Linked DNA regions of Homo sapiens: region 1 is linked to region 2. The links are contacts of gene promoters, found by promoter capture Hi-C in blood cells and fetal thymus (Javierre and others, 2016). All regions are on one chromosome and are shown on one strand. Each heading gives the region's core, a stretch centred on a gene start or on the middle of the fragment in contact. The rest is flanking DNA. Distances are from core to core; before and after follow the strand shown.

Region 1 (3,329 bases), core at 144-2,643, 2.0 Mb before region 2:
TGCCCAGGCTGGAGTGTAGTAGCGCAATCTCAGCTCACTGCAACCTCCACCTCCTGGGTTCAAGCGATTCTTCTCCCTCAGCCTCCCCAGTAGCTGGGATTACAGGTGACTGCCACCACACCCGGCTAATTTTCGTATTTTTAGTAGAGACCGGGTTTCTACTTGGCCAGGCTGGTCCTGAACTCCTGACCTCAGGTGATCTGCCTGCCTTGGCCTCCCAAAGTGCTGGGATTACAGGCGTGAGCTACTGCACCTGGCCGTTGCTGTGTATCTTTCCAGGGATATTCTACGGATACACAAGCATAAATATACACCAATATATTTACAGTAATATATCTCTGTGTGTGTGTGTGTGTGTGTGTGTGTGTGTGTGTGCGTATCCATTCCCTCGGTTTTACACAAATGGTAGTCCACCATACCTGCTGTTCTGCATCTTTCCCCCACTTTATTTTATAACTTTCCCTTATTGGTGCATGTAGATCCACATTAATATTTTTTAAAAGCTTCAGGTTATTATAATGTATGGATAAGTGTATTCATCTGTGAAGTTCACTTTGTATATTGATTCAAAAGGACCTCGGTCTGTCTGCTTTTAAAGTTCACTGCAAACAAAAAACAAAAAAACTTCTTTGTTTAACCTCCTCAAGTGGCACCTAGCCTTGCTCAGATGCGAATCTGAATCAATGTTACAACCTTGCACTTTACAGAGCTGAGCAAGCCGACTCACTCTACCACTCCTGGTCTATGGGCTAGAAACTATTATTTATCAGCCCTCGAAATAATACAACTTTGATCGTCTCTGCATCCAACTAACCAGAATACAAAGTCCAAGTGCAGCTCCAGGGCAAACCTCACTTGGGACAGCCTCCCAGGGCCCCCCAACCTGCCTGCCATCCTCTGCCGTGCTCCCAGCCGGAGGGAAAGTGTGCAGCCTTACCTAGCCATGGGTTCCCTTCGGTGGTCTCAACGCCTGTCACCTTCTTTTTCTTTTGCCCTGAGAAGGTGGCCTCCTTGTCCCAGGCATCTCCTACGTCTGCAGCCTAGAAAGATTTGATTTCAGGCTTCTGTCCGACTGAGCCCACGAGACAAACCTGCACGGGAATTCCACGGCTCCCACCTCCTCCCCAGGCTCCCGCTCCGTCTGCTCTGGTTCCTCAGGCCCAGGGGACCCTACCCGGGCATCCTGGGAGCGGGGCGTTCTCGTGGGCCAGCTCTGTCCTCTAGGAACCGGTCGTCCCCAGGTGGCGGGGTGTGGGTCCCGCTTCCTCTCCCCGTCCCTCCGGGTCCCACAGCCCTCTCGCGCCCACACTCACGGGATCAAGCGGCCCGCCGGTTCCTTCGGCACCTCTCGGTTCAGTCCCGAGCTGCTCCCCGCGGCCCCTTGCCCAGCCGGAAGGAGGGCCCGGCCGGCGGCGGCGCCACGTCCCCAAGGAAACCGCAGGGAGCCAATGACTGACAGAAGACTCACGGAGGGGCCGGCTCTCCACGAGCCGAACCGGGGGCGAACCAGCTCGGTCAGCAGCACGTCCGTCCGCCAGGGTGGCCAATCCCCTAGAGCGCTCGGCCTCTGATGCCCGCCCCGGGACTTTGAGCCGCGCCCAATCGGAAAGGCGTCGTACCGAGGCTCCGCCTGCAGGGCCCGCGGAGAGCTCACAGGTGAGTGGCGCTGGGCGGCCCTGTGCCCGCTTCCCTCCCTGGGGCGCGAACTCTCGGCTGGTTGCTTTCTCCACGGCCGCTCCTGGGACAGAGTAGCTCCGGTAGGTGGGTTCAGGGTGTTCGCGACCGAAGCGCATCCCTTGCCCATAACCTATTGTTGGTTTTGTGCCCACTGACCCTCCCTACCAGAATGGCAGTTCTCTCACCTTAAACCTTCCCTATCACCTCCCAAACTGATGCCCCGACCTCACTGTCTTGCCCCGTGAGAAAACAGAAATCGAAGACAATGACGTTTACACCAAAGTGCTTATGTCCATTCATTCATTCATTGAATGTCTGCTTATGCCAGTCATCATGAATTTCTGTGTCGCCGCCCTCCTTGACCTTACAGTAACACAAAGGAAACGACGCGCGCGCGTGGGTGTGTGTGTGTTTCTTTCTTGCTTACACCAGCCGTTATCTCATTTCCAGGAGGACGGCATAAAGTCCAAGCTCTTTCCAACGTGGCACATCCATTGCGCCCCACGATCCGCCCTACCGCCGTCCTCTGCCGCTACTTGCCTTCCTTACCACGCTCCAGCAACGCGTCCTGTTTTGCTCATTCTGCCCCTCCACCTGCCTTGAATAACCGTCCCAGCCTCTTAGCCAAATCACCTCCTACTCATCCCTTACCACCCATCTTAAGGGTCGCCTTCCCCTAAAAGCCCTACTTGACCTACTACACCTTTTTTATACATGCCTATTGTTTCACTTAGCACGTTGAATTACTATTATACGTATATGTCTGTCTGTCTGTCCCACTAGACAGAATATCCTTGAAGGCAGGGACTATTTGCTTCCACATATTCCCAATACTGGCCACTGCCTGGCAGATAAAACACAACTAATGTATAATTAATAAGCAAATGAATGAATGGGGGGGATCGGGGAGGAAGACCACCCAAATGCTTTATTTATTCAAAGCTTACTATGACAAGGGAGTCAGTCACCATCACTTGCATTTGGCCGACTCAAAGCCTGTCAGGACATTAGGAAAACTACTTACTTACTTAATTACCTACAGGGTCTCACTCTGTTGTCATCCAGGCTGGAGTGCAGTGGTGCGATCGTGGTTCACTGCAGCCTCGACCTCCTGAGCAAGCGATCCTCCCACCTCAACCTCCTGAGTAGCTGGCTCTACAGGCACGTGCCACCATGCCCAGCTTATTTTTTTTTAATTCTTTGTAGAGATGGAGTCTCACTATGTTGTCCAGGCTGGTCTTGAACTCCTGGGCTCAAGCAGTCTTCCTGTCTCAGCCTCCCAAAGTGCTGGGATTACAGGGATGAGCAGCTGCACCTGGCCAGGAAAGCTTAGTAGTGAACAAAAAGGGAAGGTTTCATGTATACTCTGACTTGAGGGTATTAGCATGGGAAAGCTGGAGGTGGGCTAACAAAAGTAGTGTCTCTTAGGTGATTGGTTTGGGGTAGGTAGCATATTTGGCTGTCTTTAGTGGGTTCTGAGTTGAAGAAAGGAGGCGGCAAAAAACAGGGAAACTGAGTCATTGACCAAGTCCTGATTATTCTCGGCTGGTTGCTGTAGAGGTTGTGGGTCAGAGTTCTAATTGTCATATAAGATCTAGCCATTGTCCAGTTTCTATATTCAGTTCTCATGACTATTGTTTTTTTGGCTCCAC
Region 2 (3,569 bases), core at 1,040-3,539:
GATTTCTTTGTTCTTTTCAACAGTTCCCCAGGGCTTGAGGAAAAGTGAAGAGAAGCCACTGTAAAAACCTTTTTAACGGGCCGGGCGCTGTGGCTCACGCCTGTAATCCCAGCACTTTGGGAGGCTGAGGCCGGAGGATCACGAGGTCAATTGATCGAGACCATCCTGGCCAACATGGTGAAACCCCATCTCTACTAAAAATACAAAAATTAGCCGGGCATGGTGGCCTGCACGTATAATCCCAGCTACTCGGGAGGCTGAGGCAGGAGAATCGCTTGAACCCGGGAGGCAGAGGTTGCGGTGAGCCGAGATCGTGCCACTGCATTCCAGCCTGACGACAGAGTGCGCCTCCGTCTCAAAAAAAGCAAACAAACAAACAAAAAAACCTTTTAGCGGCCGGGCATGGTGGCTTACGCCTGTAATCCCAGCACTTTGGGAGGCCGAGGCAGGTGGATTACCTGAGGTCAGGAGTTCAAGACCGGTCTGGCCAACATGGTGAAACTGCATCTCTACTAAAAAATACAAAAATTAGCCAGGTGTGGTGGTACGTGCCTGTAGTCTCAGCTACTCGGGAGGCTAAGGCAGGAGAATCGCTTGAACCCAGGGGGCAGAAGATGCAGTGAACTGAGATGGTGCCACTGCACACCAGCTTGGGCAACAGAGTGAGACTCTGTCTCAAAAATACAAAACAAAAAACCCTTTTAGCCACAGCACAACAACACTTACGCTGTTTTTGTGCAGAAGGACAGAGAGAGGAACTGGAGATCATGGGGTGAGGACAAATAGCTCCCAAGCATCCCCTTCACGCTGCAACAAGGAATTCACAAAGCCCCATGTGCTGGCTCTTCCCCTTCCCACCCACAACTTTTACAGAAGAAAAATCAAGCTTAAATGGATAAGAGGTCAGCTATGAAGTAAAAAGGAAGTCAGGGAGACCCAGGAGCCTTTCCTGAGCATTGCTGAACAAGTGCACAAACACTTCATCTTCCAAGGACAAAACAAGCATTTATCAGAGGCCTACTGGACACCCTGCCTCCACTCCTGCCCCCTCCAATCCAAGTTCCAAACTGCAGCCAGAGTGACCTTCTAAAAACACAAACTTGTCATGATGATGAAATTTGCAAAGTGCTGACTGACACTACTGGTACGTGGTAAGTACTATAAAATGCCCGTTACATAAACACAGTACATATAATGCCATTCCTTGTTTAAACCCCTCCAAGGATCACATGCAACCTTCTCTGCCTGCCTCTGCCTTCTACTTCCCACCGTGCTCTCTCTTGCTAGCCTTACTCCGGGTCGCATTTAATTCCTCCGGAGCCAAGCTACCTCCTGGCCCAACCAAATGCCTTTCCCTCTTTCCTTAAAGCAGTCTCCCCAGATCCACTCCTCTTCATTTGACCAGTTTCAACTCCTTCTTTATATCTCAGCTTAAATGCTGCTTCTTCAGCCCTCCTGAACCTCCCAGAGGAAGCTTAGGTTCCTCCATATTTATCCTCTTATAGCCATAACATTGATCACAACTGTAATCACATACTCCATGTTTTAGGTTGTTTAATGCCTGCCTCCCTTACTAGGCTGTAGACTCCCCAGGACAAGGGCTATAGGTCTTTCCGTCTCTCTTGTTTACGGCCTATCAAGGAACTCGGACAGCATAGGTCACTAATGAACATTTCCGAATGCATACAAACTTTAAAATACGGTCTTGTTTAGGTAACCGGCCCAAAGTCGCACAAATGACCCAATATTTGAACCCACGACATTCTGGCTTTGAAGCCCAAGGTCTGACTCCAGCAGACTGCCCCCTCCTCTCCCTCAAAGCCGGAGCCAAACGGTGGGCTGGGAGGGGACTTGAGCGGCAGAGTCTGAGGATCTGCAGAGGGCCACGCGCTGCAAGGCAGTCAGTGCCGCGCGCGCTGGCCTCGGGCCCAGGAGAAGGGGCATCCGTCACGTGTACCCGGCAGGGCCAGCTTTCGCCGCACCCTGGGGCAGGAATGCAGCCCCGCCCAGCTCCCGCGCCAGCAAAACCGCGCTGGCCCTGGGGACTGACGTCAATGAAGGGGGCGCCTCGGGCGCCGCGCGGGGGCGGAGAGGGCGGTGGGCAGGGCCCGGGCAGACACGCCCCCTCACCGCCGCTCCGCCGCCGATTAGGTTTGAGGAAGCTTCGCACTCCGCTTTCGAGGCCAGCGGAGGCGGGGGGCGGGGATGGACACGCCCCCTCCCTGTCTCCCACCGATGATTGGCGCACGGAACTCCGCCTTGGGTTTGGAAGGCTCGCCTGGGAGCTCATACCTGGCTAGGGCCGAGGATTGGCTGTTCCGGGGCTAGGGAGCGCTTTCTCCCGGGAACCGCGGCTGTGACCCAAGTGGCCCGGACCAGTTTGGGGCTGCGTGCGGCCTGCCTCAAGCAACCAGGTACGTAGGTCGGCGGCCCAGCTCGGCGCTGCGGTGGGAGCCGGAGGGCGACAGTCAGAGCCGGGGTGCCAGCGGGACGCGACCGCCAGATCCACTTAGGACCCCGTCGTTCTGCGAAGCGGCCACGTCTGAGTCCCGGGGCCTCCTCGTGCTGCAGATGTCGCCTTAGGACCTCGGCCAGGATACCCTCTGCCATGCTCTTGTGCTGCCCGTGATCACCGACTGGCCCTTGTAAGCACCTTCGCAGAGCTGCGCCTGCCCTTTCTGAAGGCTGTGGAAGAGGTTGGAGTGGGCGCATCTTAGCTTGCCCCATCCCCATTTGAGGTCTGTCGGAGCTGCCCTTCAGTGTGGTGAGTACCTGCTCCAATTCTCCACCGGGCAGTGGAGTGCAGAGGGTACAGAGGCTAGCTTGGGAGTCCTGACTTTGGATCCCTCCCTGCTCCTTCCACAATCTACAGAAGCAGATAGCCTCCGAAAGGCTTCTGGGACCGACCTTCCCCAGAAGACCTCCTCAGCCATCTGGCAGGAACAAAAATAACAGTGGCTTGAGAGCCCGGGTGCTGGGGTCAGACTGCCTGGGTTCATGTCCCAGCTTCCATCACCTGCCAGCTGTGTGACTTTGGGTGTAGCTTTCTCATCTGTAAAATGGGTATAACAATAGTGCCACCTTAAGTGAGGAGGAAAGAAAGCACCCATCTGAACGTGCTCTGTTCTGCGCTTGACACTGAACAAGCTGCCTCTATGATTTTAATCATAAAGCTATGATTTAAAAGTACACAGATTTGTTGATGGCTGTGATGATGAAAATGACAATGATTCTATAGCCCCTGGTAGTCAAACAGCCTTTCCCTTCATCATTTATTCATTCAACCAGCATGCATAGAATGTCTGTGGTATACCAGGTACTAGAAGGAATGCCGTCACAAACTTAATCTCCCTTTTCCTGTTAAGAGTTATTTATACTCACCATTTATTTTAAAAAGCTTATTTAAAATTTTATAGAGGCAGTCTTGCTATGTTGACCAGGCTGGTCTGGAACTCCTGGGCTCAAGCAATCCTCCCACCTCAGCCTCCCAAAGTGCTGGGATTACAGGCGTGAGCCACCAGGCCTGGCCTTATACTATTTTGATGACGAGCAACTTGTGGCAGGGGAAA

The links. The method cuts DNA at HindIII sites, captures the fragments that hold promoters and counts their contacts. A CHiCAGO score of 5 or more calls a contact.
Region 1: the fragment with the promoter of ENTPD7 here is called in contact with the fragment with the promoter of AVPI1 in region 2 in 1 of 17 cell types (non-activated CD4 T cells); the score reaches 5.9 in non-activated CD4 T cells.

The regions. Positions count from the first base shown.
Region 1 is chr10:99,657,573-99,660,901 of GRCh38, reverse strand. ENTPD7 (ectonucleoside triphosphate diphosphohydrolase 7) reads right to left here and starts at 1,393. Exons shown (of 13, transcript NM_020354.5): 1 at 1,314-1,393; 2 at 938-1,040. The coding sequence starts at 945. It also overlaps a transcript of SLC25A28 not described here. RefSeq lists silencers at 1,165-1,384, 1,505-1,714. The HindIII fragment of the contact is 2,116 bases long and covers 506-2,621 here.
Region 2 is chr10:97,685,961-97,689,529 of GRCh38, reverse strand. It overlaps AVPI1 (arginine vasopressin induced 1), which reads left to right and starts at 2,289. Exons shown (of 3, transcript NM_021732.3): 1 at 2,289-2,764. RefSeq lists enhancers at 1,245-2,198, 1,266-2,465, 2,199-3,152 and a silencer at 1,923-2,302. The HindIII fragment of the contact is 1,235 bases long and covers 2,165-3,399 here.